Linked DNA regions of Homo sapiens: region 2 is linked to region 1. Evidence: promoter capture Hi-C in 16 types of primary human blood cells and fetal thymus (Javierre and others, 2016). All regions are on one chromosome and are shown on one strand. Each heading gives the region's core, a stretch centred on a gene start or on the middle of the fragment in contact. The rest is flanking DNA. Distances are from core to core; before and after follow the strand shown.

Region 1 (6,395 bases), core at 1,176-3,675:
ATATTTAGTTTAAAATAATTTGGTTTAAATTAAAATTTTATTTATAAAAATAACTTTTTATTTTAAAAATTAAAGAAAATAACTTCACCTGTTCCATTTTACTTTTTATTTTTTTAAGAGCCAGATTCTTACTCTGTCACCCAGGCTGGCATGATCATAGCTCACTTCAGCCTAGAACTCCTGGCTTCAAGCAATCCTCCCACCTCAGCATCCCAAGTAGCTGGAACTACAGGTACGCACCATCATGCCCAGCTTCATTTATATATTTATCTTTTTTGTTTGTTTTTTGAGACAGGGTCTCCTTCTGTCGCCCGAGCTGGAGTGCAGTGGCACAATCTTGGCAAACTGCAACCTATGCTTCTGGGGCTCCCGTGATCCTCCCACCTCAGCCTCTCCAATAGCTGGGACTACAAGCGTGTGCCACCATGCCTCGCTAATTTTTGTATTTTTTAGTAGAGACAAGAGTTTGCCACATTGCCCAGGCTGGTCTCAAACTCCTGAGCCCAAGCCATCTGCCCACCTCGTCCTCCCAAGGTGCTGGGATTACAGGGGTGAGCCACTGCACCCTGCCTATTTATTTACTTTTCTTAGAGATGGGGGTCTTGCTTTGTTGCCCAGGCTGGTCTCGAACTCCTGGGCTCAAGCAATCCTCTCACCTCAGCCTCCCAAAGTGTTGGGATTACAGGCATGAGCCATCTCACCTGGCCAGTAATGTATTTCACTCCAAGAACAACTCATGAATTAGGAACTGTTATAATCCCCCTTCTGCAGGGGAGGAAAGAGAGGCTCAGAGAGGTTAAATGACTGCTCAGAGTCCCTCAGAGCTGGGCTTTAAGTCCACCTGAGGCAGGCGGACGGGCTGTGCAGGACAAGTTGGCAGCCCCCGCCTTAAGGAGAGTGGTACCCTCTTTCCTCCAGTGCATTTATGTTTTATTTTTATTTTTGAGACAGAGCCTCACTTTGTCACCCAGGCTGGAGTACAGTGGTGCGATCTCAGCTCACTGTAACCTCTGCCTCCTGGGTTCGAGCAATCCTCCTACCTTAGCCTCCTGAGTAGCTGGGACTACAGGCACACACCACCATGCCTGGCTAATTTTTGTATTTTTGGTAGAGACAGGGTTTCACCATGTTTGCCAGGCTGGTCTCAAACTCCTGGCCTCAAAAGATCCACCCACCTCGGCCTCCCAAACTGTTGGGATTATAGGCGTGAGCCACCGTGCCCGGCCAAGTGCATTTTTTTGTAAACCCCCGTGCAAGTTGCTTTGAGGTTGAGCAGCTTACTGCTGGGGACAGCATTCTCAAGTCCAGGCTAAACAGGGAAGATGCTGTGTGCTGTCCCTTTGTGGCTTTGAGGTTCTCCTGCTTATTCTCTTTGCTGCCTGCAGCTGCCTCTTGGTGACTTTCCCTTTCCAGGGAGCCAGAGGAACCAAGGAGTGTTGGCCCTGACTCCTGCCCCCAGCATGTAAACTCATTAACTGCTGGGTCCTCAGGCAGTTAGGTGGCTGAGCATTTGAGTCTGGGACGGCAGGTGGATTTGGTTGGAGAGGGAATGACAGAGATTGGGGAGGAGCCTCCAGAGTCTAAAGAGATAGGTACACAAGCAGAAAGTTCCAGCCCCCAGCCTGCCTTTCCCCCATGCTCAGGGGACAAAGCTGAATTAACTCGAGGTCAGGAATGGCATTTGCATTTGCATTCTTGAGAGTCACTGCAAATAAGAGCTGTAGTCATGGTGAGTGGTTAAGGCAATGGACTAGAGAACCACTGAGAAAAAAAGCGAACAGTGGCTGGGCGCAGTGGCTCATGCCTGTCATCCCAGCACTTTGGGAGACCGAAGTGGGTGGATCACTTGAGGTCAGGAGTTCGAGACCAGCCTGGCCAACATGGTGAAAACCCGTCTCTACTAAAAATACAAAAATTAGCCAGGCTTGTCAGTGGGCACCTATAATCCCAGCTAGTCGGAAGGCTGAGGCAGGAGAATCACTTGAACCCAGAAGGCAGAGGTTGCAGTGAGCTGAGATCATGACACTGCACTCCAGCCTGGGTGACAGAGAGAAACTCCGTCTCAAAAAAAAAAGAAAAAGAAAAAAAAAAAAAGGAACAGCCGGACATGGTAGCTCATACCTGTAATCCCAGCGCTTTGGGAGACCGAGGCAGGTGGATCACCTGAGGTCAGGAGTTCCAGATCAGCCTGGCCAACATGGTAAAACCCCATCTCTACTAAAAATACAAAAATTAGCTGGATGTGGTGGCGCACACCTGTAGTCCCAGATACTCAGGAGGCTGAGGCAGGAGAATAGCTTGAACCCGGGAGGCGGAGGTTGCAGTGAGCAGAGATCACGCCACTGCACTCCAGCCTGGGCGATAGAGTAACAATCCGTCTCAAAAAAATCTGAAAATTAAAAATTAAAAAGTGAACAGTTGTTTAGTAAGTGCAGTAGGTAGGCCAAGATAACTATTAAGTATGTCCTAACAAGGTAGCTGCTTGAAAAAAATAATGCACATAAATTAAAAAAAAAAAAACTATTTTCACTCATTCTTAACTTCTCGTATGGATGTACTAACGGGAGGCCTGTGCCTGTTGGGCTGTCCACAGCTACTCAAACCTTGAGATTAGATTGGACGCTATCTAATCTCATTTCCTGTTACACAATAACTTCTGCATGGCACTTGCTTTTAATCATGACAACTGCCATACACTCAGCTTTACAAAATCATGTCATTGTGGAAAGGAAGTTCCCTCCATCTAACATTCAAATTTAACTATCCTGAGCTGGTAGTTTGCAAGGTGTCCAACAGATGTCACTGTGTTTCCTTCGCAAATTCTCTAAAATAGTCTGCTGTGTCCCGGGGCATAGTAGATATTCAAGAAATGGTGGCTATGAGTTTTATCACAATTCTCTCCTACTGGGTGAGCAGCTGTTTGCAAGACTAAAATTCGGGCGAGGCACAGGCTTCCCCTTGGTCTTAGCAGCTAGCACAAGACGAGTGTCCCTTCAGCCAGTCTCAGAGCTCTTTGGCAATTCAACTGACCCTTGTCCTTCAGTCCAGACAATGCCCCAGGGCCCACCTGCATTCAAACTCGGACTGTTCTCCTTCCCACCCCTATTATCTTTTCAACTTTATGGACAGTACATGCAATTTTCTCATTCATTTTCTCATTTAACATCTAACAGCTTCATGATATCCCCATTTTACAGATAAGGAAACCAAGGCTTTAAGAGGATAGGGACCCTAATCGGCTAAGGCAGAATTAGGATTTGAACCCAGATCCCCATGACGCCAGAATCTAAGCCTTGACCAAATATGTGTTACTATTACTTTTGTTGTTGTTGTTGTTCTGGGTAACTCCAACCCTCTGCTCGTTGGCCTTGTCACCTCAGTGCTGATTTTGCAGATGAAGAGACTAAGGTTCCGAGGTGCTAGAGCACAGTGGTTAGGAACACACACTCTAGAGCCAGAGTGCCTGGGTTTGAGCCTCGTTCTGCCGTTTACTAGCCGTATGGCCTTGGGCAACTTGCTTAACTTCTCTTTGCCTCAGTTCCTCTTCTCTTGGGTTGTTAGGAGAATGAATGAGGTGATATCCACAGTGTCCAACACCCTGCAAGCGGCCAGGTGTGGTGGATCACACCTGCAATCCCAGCACTTTGGGAGGCCGAGGCAGGTGGATCATTTGAGGTCAGGAGTTCGAGACCAGTCTGGCCAACATGGCGAAACCTCATTTCTACTAAAAATACAAAAATTAGCCGGGCGTGGTGGCAAACAACTGTAATCCGAGCTACTAGGGAGGCTGAGGCAGAAGAATCGCTTGAACCCAGGAGACAGAGGTTGCAGTGAGCCAAGATTGCACCACTGCACTCCAGCCTGGGCGACAGAGTGAGACCCTGCCTCAAAAACTAAAAATAAAAAATGAACAGTGTCCAACACCTTGAAAGCATTCCGCATGACTGAACGATCACTGTTACGTGATTACCAACATGACGACCCCACTTCTCTTGGCCAAACTGAGTTCTCTTCTCTTGTAAAAACTTCTGCATATGAAGTCACCCATTCCATTTGACTCTTTAGCCCTCATCCTGGCATTCAAGGGCATGGACGACTCAACCCCACTCTCTAGCCAGCCTGACCTCTCCATTCCCTTCTCTGGCGTAGAGGCCACTCCCACCACCTGCCCTTACCCCCTGCCCACTTTTGTCAGCCTGTACTGTGTTGAAGCTCCCAGGAGAGACAACTGCAGTCATCACTTTCCACTGTGTTCAGTGATGTCAGTTCGGCCCAGCTGGAGGTACTCACATCATGGAAACAGACCATCAGATTTGGTGTGTGTGTGTTTTATTTTGCTTTTTCAGAGAGCCAGCTGTTAAACACTAGCCAACACCCCATTGATGCTGTTCCTTCTACCTGAAACACCTCGCATTGCCGGTGAGCTCTAAAGACAAAAGGACCTGGGTCTGCATTTCCCAAAGGCAAGACTCTGGTATCACCTGCATATTATTTTCCCATATTTGAGCACCACTGCCTTTTGCATTATTTACTTAGCAGTTTTGCTCCTGTCAACTCACTTTTTTAAAACTAAACTTATTTTAAAAAGAAAAGTTTTGGCCGGGAGCGGTGGCTCATGCCTGTAATCCCAGCACTTTGGGAGGCCGAGGTGGGCAGATCACCTGAGGTCGGGAGTTCGAGACCAGCCTGACCAACATGGAGAAACTCCGTCTCTACTAAAAATACAAAATTAGCTGGGCGTGGTGGCGCATGCCTGTAATCCTAGCTACTCGGGAGGCTGTGGCAGGAGAATTGCTTGAACCCAGGAGGCGGGGGTTGCAGTGAGTCGAGATCGCCCCATTGTACTCCAGCCTGGGGAACAAGAACGAAACTCCGTCTCAAAAAAAAAAAAAAAAAAGAAAAAGAAAAGAAAAGCTTTATATAATTTTAATACTCAAAAAAACAGTATCCCGGCCAGGCACAGTGGCTCACACCTGTAATCCCAGCAATTTGGGAGGCCAGGCAGGAGGATCACTTGAGGCTAGGGGTTCAAGACCACTTGAGGCTAGGGCCAACATGGTGAGACCCCGTCTCTACTAAAAATACAAAAATTAGCCAGGCATAGTGGCACGTGCCTGTAATCCCAACTACTCGGGTGGCTGAGGAACAAAAATCACCTGAATCCAGGAGGCGGAGGTTGCTGCGAGCCGAGATCGTGCCACTGCACTTCAGCCTGGGTGACGGAGTGAGACTCTGTCTCAAAAAAAGAAAAAGAAAAAGAGTATCCCTTGCCATAAATAGCAAGCAGTCATTCAGACATGGAAATGAGGCATTCACACTTGTTCTTGTTTCACACTAAGGCCCTAAGCCTAAGGAGGGTTTCTCTATGTTGAAAGGAAATTAGGCAGTGTTCAGAGGGGTGTTAAAGATAGACTAGCAACTAATTGAAACTTTCTCCTCAATGTAAGCACTTTAGAAGGGACTGAAAAGAGAATGTTCTCCCTACATGTACCATATCACCTACAATTACCTCGTGTACCACTATTTTGCAAATAAATGCCAGAGGCAAGAGTACATTTTGATGCTTTAGCCTAGCACTCAAAGCCCTCCTCGATTTGAATCTTTCCAGCCTCATCTTGCACAGCCCCTCCATACCCAGACCTCACCCACTCTATTTGCCATCTCCAGAACATACCCCTAACTTTCTCACCTCTGTGCCTTTGTGCAAGCTGCTCCCTCTACCTGGAAACCTCCATTTGTCAAGCTGCTGCTGTCTTCAAGATCTACCTGGTCAGAATCTCCTGCTGTCCTCTTCTGCCACCCACAGCAATGTGAGCCTTCACTGGCTGGCCTTCCCTACTCACTGGAGCAGAGCTACGGCATCAGAATGCCCTGGAGCAGGGGTTAGAAACACAGATTTCTGAGTCTACACTCGAAGATTTTTTTTTCTTTCTTTCTTTTTTTTTGTTTTCCAATTTTTCTAATTTTAGAGATGGGGTCTCACCACGTTGCCCAGGCTGGTCTCAAGCTCCTGGACTCAGGTCATCCTACCACCTAGGCCTTCTAAAGTGTTAGGATGAGCCCTGAACCTTGTAACATGAACATTTATTAGTTATATCTGGAAAAAAATATAAAGTTATTTTTATTTGGGTGATACTGCCTTCAAAAAACAAAAACAAAAAAAAACAGGAGGCCGAGCACAGTGGCTCATGCCTGTAATCCCAGTGCTTTGGGAGGCTGAGGCAGGCGGATCACTTGAGACCAGGAGTTCAAGACCAGCCTGGCCAACATAGTGAAACCCCGCTTCTATTAAAAATACAAAAATGGGCCAGGCACGGTGGCTCATACCTGTAATCCCAGCACTTTGGGAGGCCGAGGCGAGTGAATCACGAGGTCAAGAGATCAAGACCATCCTG
Region 2 (6,281 bases), core at 3,678-6,177, 160 kb before region 1:
AGCCTGTCTGGATTTCCACCTGTGGTCCACACCAGTCCTACTTGATGCAAAATACATTCCCCAATTCCTATGCCCCATGGGTCTACCCATTTCACAGATGGCTAAGTCATGGTTACACGAACTTAAGGCTTCACAGAGCAACTTAAGGCAGCATTTCCCAAACTGTGTACTGTGAGACTCCATTTGGCCATTTAGTGAGACGTTAATAGATAGTCCATTAACCAAGAGGAAAAAAGCAAAGCTGGTGATAGTTTTTTCTTCCATTTTATATTTTAAAATACAAACTGTAGAGAAACTTTTATATGAAGGTTATCTTCTAAAGTTGGCACTTAAGATGAAAATCATGGCTCATCAAAATTGCCTTTTAAACACTTAAATTGTCCACAAAGCATAGCAAACACCTCCCACTTCCCAGTGGGTCTGCTGGAACCAATTTTGCCTCCAGATCTAGAACAAGTTGCTGTTTTTACAGTTTTGCTCCAGGTGAAGGTGAAGGAGTTGACTTATTTTAGGGGTCATGTGGCTGAAAAATATGTACCTAGATTAATAAGTAGAGCAGCAAGATGCTCGCTAAAAAGCACGTGGGAACAGAGATTGACGGAGGGAACACCAGATGCCAGTATCCCATCTCACACCTACTCCAGCGAACCCGGTTGCTGAATCATTGCATTATTTATATTGTTCTCTCTCTCTCCATGTCCCCATGGAACATGTATAACTGAATTTGAGGGAGTTAAATACATGTAAGTTATGATTTCACCATGTGAAAGAAAAATATTTATCATTACAAGGTGTTCTCATAGTAATCTGTTTTTAGAAATTTTATTATTATACAATAATCTGAAGAAATTGAAGGCTGGGCATGGTGACCCACACCTGTAATCCCAGCACTTTGGGAGGCCAAGGCGGGTGGATTGCTTGAGCTCAGGAGTTCAAGACCAGCCTGGACAACTATGGTGAAACCCTGTCTCTACCAAAAATACAAAAAATTAGCTGGGCGTGGTGGTGTACACCTGTGGTCCCAGCTACTCGGGAGGTTGAGGTGGGAGGATTGCTTGGGCCTGGGAGGTATAGGTTGCAGTGAGCTGAGATCACACCACTGCACTACAGCCTAGGTGACAGAGTGAGACTCAACTCAAAAAAAAAAAAAAAAAAGAAAGAAAGAAAGAAAAGGAATTGTAGGCCAGACAAAGTGGCTCATGCCTATAATCCCAGCACTTTGGGAGGCCAAAGCAGGAGGATCACTTGAGTCCAGGAGTTTGAGACTAGCCTGAGCAACATAGGGAGACCCCCATCTCCACAAAAAAAAATAAAAAATTAGTCAGACATCATGGCGTGTGCCTATGGTCCCAGCTACTTGGGAGGATGAGGCGGGAGGATCACTTGAGCCTGAGAAGTTGAGGCTGTGGCGAGCTGTGATAATGACACTGCACTCCAGCCTAGGGCAACACAATGAGACCCTGTCTCTAAAAAAGAAATAAAAAGATTGTATGCTGGGCCCAAGAATGTCAGGAAGTCCCATCACCTGCTACATGAAATTGTGACATACAATCTACGTATTAATGCAGAAGGGGGCATTTACTAATTATGCTCTTTACCATTGGTCCTATGATAGCTGGTTTAAGTGATATGTCTTATTTTAGATTTCAGCACATATATATAAATATATAAAATACATATAAATATATATAAATATATAAAAAATATAAATATATAAAAATATATAAGAGATGGCAAAACCCCATCTCTACTAAAAATACTATATATATATATATATATTTTTTTTTTTTTTTTTTTTTGAGACAGAGTCTTGCTCTGTGGCTCAGGCTGGAGTGCAGTGGTGCAATCTTGGCTCACTGCAACCTCCACCTCCTGGGTTCAAGTGATTCTCCTGTCTCAGCCTCCCGAGTAGCTGGGATTACAGGCACCCACCACCATGCCCGGCTAATTTTTGTATTTTTAGCACAGATGGAGTTTCCACCACGTTGGCCAGGCTGGTCTCAAACTCTTGACCTCAAGTGACCTGCCCGCCTTGGCCTCCCAAAGTGCTGGAATTACAGGCATGGGCCACCATGCCGGACCCAGCATATATGTTTATCATTCAATATTTGTTGAACAGTAAACATATGAATCGAATAATAATAATCCTAATAATAGCATTATTAATAATAAGAACTAACACTTAATCAGGGATTACTATATGCCATATATTTCTCAAACAGCTTTGCATTTATTAGTTCATTTAATATTCCTATCAACAATTCTCCCCATTTTACAGATGATGAAACCAAGGCTCAAAGAGGTGAAGGATTTTTGAATCCACGTTTCCAGATTTCAAATCCTGAACTTGGACGTGGTTACTTTGAGGGTCAGAGCAGAGGATATAGATAAAAATACATACATGTATTTTATATACATATATACTATTATATAATCAAAAAAATTATTACTATTATTATTATTTTGAGATGGAGTCTTGCTCTGTCACCCAGGCTGGAGTGCAGTGGCTTGATCTTGGCTCACTGCAACCTCCGCCTCCGGGTTCAAGCGATTCTCCTGCCTCAGCCTCCCTAGTAGCTGGGATTACAGGTGTGCACCACCACTCCCCACTAATTTTTGTATTTTTAGTAGAGATGGGGTTTCACCATATTGGCCAGGCTGGTCTCAAACTCCTGACTTCGTGATCCACCCGCCTTGGCCTCCCAAAGTGTTGGGATTACAGGTGTGAGCCACCACTCCCAGACTTAAAAAGATTATTTTTAAAAATAGATACTAGTTATGGAGCTCTTATCCTATGTCAGTCATCATGATAAGGGCTGTTCATGCCTTTTTTTTTTGGTTAATTGCCACAACCCTATGAACAGATGCAGAAACTGAGGCTCAGAGAAGTTAATGACTTGGCCCAGAAGACATAGCCAGTACTATGAAATAAGTTACCCTAACTCTTAGTAAACTACACTGCCACTCTATAGATACAAATTGCCTTCATCATCATTATCAATCAGCACAGAGAATAAGAGGCACTCACCATCAGGGAAATTCAAATCACAACCACAATGAACTACCACTTCACACCCACTAGCATGGCTATAATAAAAAAGACAGACAATCAGCCGGGCGTGGCGGCTCATGCCTGTAATCCCAGCACTTTGGGAGGCCAAGGTGGGCGGATCACTTGAGGTCAGGAGTTTGAGACCAGCCTGGCCTACATGGCGAAACCTCATCTCTACTAAAAATACAAAAATTAGTGAGGAGTGGTGACGCACACCTGTAATCCCAGCTACTCATGAGGCTGAGGCAGGAGAATCGCTTGAACCGGGGAGGTGGAGGTTGCAGTGAGCCAAGATTGCGCCACTGCACTCCAGCCTGGGCAACAGAGCAAGACTTCATCTCAAAGACAAAAACAAAATGACAACAACAAAACCCAAAAAGACAGACGATAACAAGCGTTGGTGAGGATGTGGAGAAATTGGATCCCTCATACTCTGCTGATAGGAATGTAAAAAACTGCAGCTGCTGTGAAATTCAGCTCCACATTCCCCCCAAAGGTGAAACATAGTTAACATATGACCTAGCAATTTTTACTCTTAGGTACATATTCGAGAGAAAGGAGAATATATATCCACATAAAACCTTGTACACAAATGTTCATGTGGCATTATTCATGATAGCCAAAAAAGAGAAACAACCCCAATGTCCATCAATGGATGAATGGATAGAAAAAAGTGGTCTATCCATGCAATGGAGTACTACTCAGCCGTAAAAAGGAATGAAGTATCAGCCGGGTGCAATGGCTCACGCCTGTAATCCTGACACTTTGGGAGGCCGAGGCAGGCAGATCACTTGAGTCCAGGAGTTTGAGACCAGCCTGGACAAAATAGTGAGACCCCGTCTCTTTAAAAAAAAAAATTGAATGAAGTATCAACACATGCTACAACATGGATGAGCATTGAAAACACGCTAAGTGCCACAAAGGACCACATATTATGTGATTCCATTTATATGAAATGTCCAGAATCGGCAAATCCATAGAGGCAGAAAGGAAATTGATGGGTGGGAAGGAGGAGGAACAGTGTTGGAAATGATGGTGAAGGAGTGTGGGATTCCTTTTGAGTCGATTAAAATATTCTAAAATTGATTGTGGGGATGGTTGCACAACTCTGGGAATAATCTGAAAATCATTAAATGGTACCCTTTAAATGGGTCAATTGTATGGTGTATAAATTATATCTCAGTAAGTTTCTTTTAGAAGAAACAAAAACCAAAAAGCAGGGCCTTCCTGACGTTGGTGAGGACCTAAAGTTATAACACATTTTCAAGCCTGGTCCTATTCCTCCCAAGCATGGTGACTCAGATGCCAGCATGATCACCAGGCGTGCCCTGAGATCCTCGCCTCCTCCCTGGGGATCCAGGGTGTTGCCCTGCGCTTTCCTACCTTCCCCAGGCACGCCCTGCCCTGCGCGCCCTGGCGGGCCTGAAGTAGAGCAGAAAGGAATCCCGCTTGTCCTGTGGCTTCTCTCTGCTGCAGCCTGGCACCGTTTCCTCTTGCCTGCTGCTGCTTCCTCCCTCCCGCCCAGCTGGCTGTGAGAGCACGTCTCAGATTCGAAAACCATGTGAGATTCAGAATGTGCACCTGAAGCTGCCCGCTGGGGCTTTCTGTGCTGTCGGCCACTGCAGAGATCTGGGTCCTCCCCAGATCCCACTTACCAAACGTAGGAAAAGATGATCACGTGGAAGAACCACTTAATGGTGCCATAATTCATGCTCTGGATCCGAGTGACTTTGTTCGTCTCATACTGGAAAACATCACTGCAGCTGCAGCAGGCCGGCATGGTGACAGCCTCCCTCCCTGCGCGGAGCTGGACCAGAGCTCTACTCTTCCTGACAGGGCCACAGCAAGCCCCCTCCCAGTAACTGCAAAATGAAACGTACTGGTTTTTAGCAGGAGTCTTTAACTTCAAGCTCCTCCAATGACTGCAGAGTTGGGGCGGGCCCTGGCAGTGGCCCCACATGTGGCTGTGATAAACAAGAAGCGCCAAGTCCTACGGGCCTGGCTGGCAGATGACCTCACCCCAGCTGGCCTCCCCCAGATGCCTACACAAAGATGGTGTTCAGAGGATGGGCATTTTTAGAATTCTCCCTTTTCCCCCCTTTCCTTTCACTTTTTTGGTCTCATGTCTCTTGGGAGAAAGGGGCAGCCTTGCAAATGTCACAAGACTGGGAGCTTCCATTATGCCTCAGAAAAGGACTGAGATCTTTCCATTGCCTGAAGCCCCACTCAGAGATTGATTCATTCATTTCTACAACCCTTTATTCAGCCCCTGATGTATAGGAGCTCTGGGTAAATGAAGATCTCCCCCTCTTCTTCCACCGCCCCTTATAATACTCTGGTCTGCAGTTGGTGGGGGAAATCAGATTTGCAGGGGTAGGGGTGGTGGGGGTGGAGGGGCTTTATTTTTCTGCCAGATCTTTCATGCTTGACCCTCTGAGTTACTCTCCACCCTCCTCTGCACCCCGGCAGGTCGATCTATGACCTAGACCAATCAGCCAAAGATCACCAGGGACACAGTGGCAGTCCAACAAAGTTAGGTTTGTTGACCTATTCAGTGAGGGACACCACCCACCAGAAGAGCTACGCACATCACCAAACAAAGGAAAACAGCAATTTATTATAGGATTCCGAGGAAAGTGGAGTTGAGATAAAATCTAAATGAAGTCATGTTTTGATGGACTCAAAGCAAAACAGGTTTGTACAAAGCAGTCAACTTCAGTCTGGATTGCAAAGAGGACCCAGGGCCCTGTTTCCTAGGAAGCAACATAGCTAAGATACATGTCAAATGTGTCCAGAAAATCTTTATCTGAAGCTCTGCTCCTGAGTTGTAAATTGAGGCTGCTTCTCTGTGTCAAGATGACTTAAATCTTCCAGGCAAAATTGGAATATTTCAGTCTTAGTCATGTAATTTCAAACAGCAAAGTTTCTGAAGGTCTCTGATTTTAAAGGACAATGTTTCAGCAGTCACTCAAAGATGCAGGGTTGTATTATCACTTTACAGCTACAGAGAATTATTGTTCCCTGTTATCTTTACAGCTGGCTTGATCCCTTTCTGTTATTCCAGCCTGCTAAGTGGCCGGGTAGATTTTCAGTTTTTCAGTCTAAACTAATTGTACTTTCTCACACATACAAACTGCATCAGGGTTCCCCTCACCTTCTGGCTTCCAGTTCAGGAGACTGGAGAGCAGTGAGGATGGACGTGACTCCCTGGCCCTGCCCTTCTCAGTTG

The links. Contacts are between HindIII fragments. The CHiCAGO score rates a contact against its expected background, and 5 or more counts as called.
Region 2: a contact is called between the fragment with the promoter of P2RX7 here and the fragment with the promoter of HNF1A-AS1 in region 1, in 1 of 17 cell types (neutrophils). The highest score is 5.3, in neutrophils.

The regions. Positions count from the first base shown.
Region 1 is chr12:120,968,322-120,974,716 of GRCh38, reverse strand. HNF1A-AS1 (HNF1A antisense RNA 1) reads left to right here and starts at 2,425. Exons shown (of 1, transcript NR_024345.1): 1 at 2,425-4,879. RefSeq lists an enhancer at 1,305-1,832. The HindIII fragment of the contact is 11,110 bases long and covers 1-4,916 here.
Region 2 is chr12:121,131,522-121,137,802 of GRCh38, reverse strand. It overlaps P2RX7 (purinergic receptor P2X 7), which reads right to left and starts at 4,927. Exons shown (of 13, transcript NM_002562.6): 1 at 4,708-4,927. The coding sequence starts at 4,832. The region is part of intron 2 of LOC105370032 (a long non-coding RNA gene); the gene reads left to right. The HindIII fragment of the contact is 14,919 bases long and covers 1-6,281 here.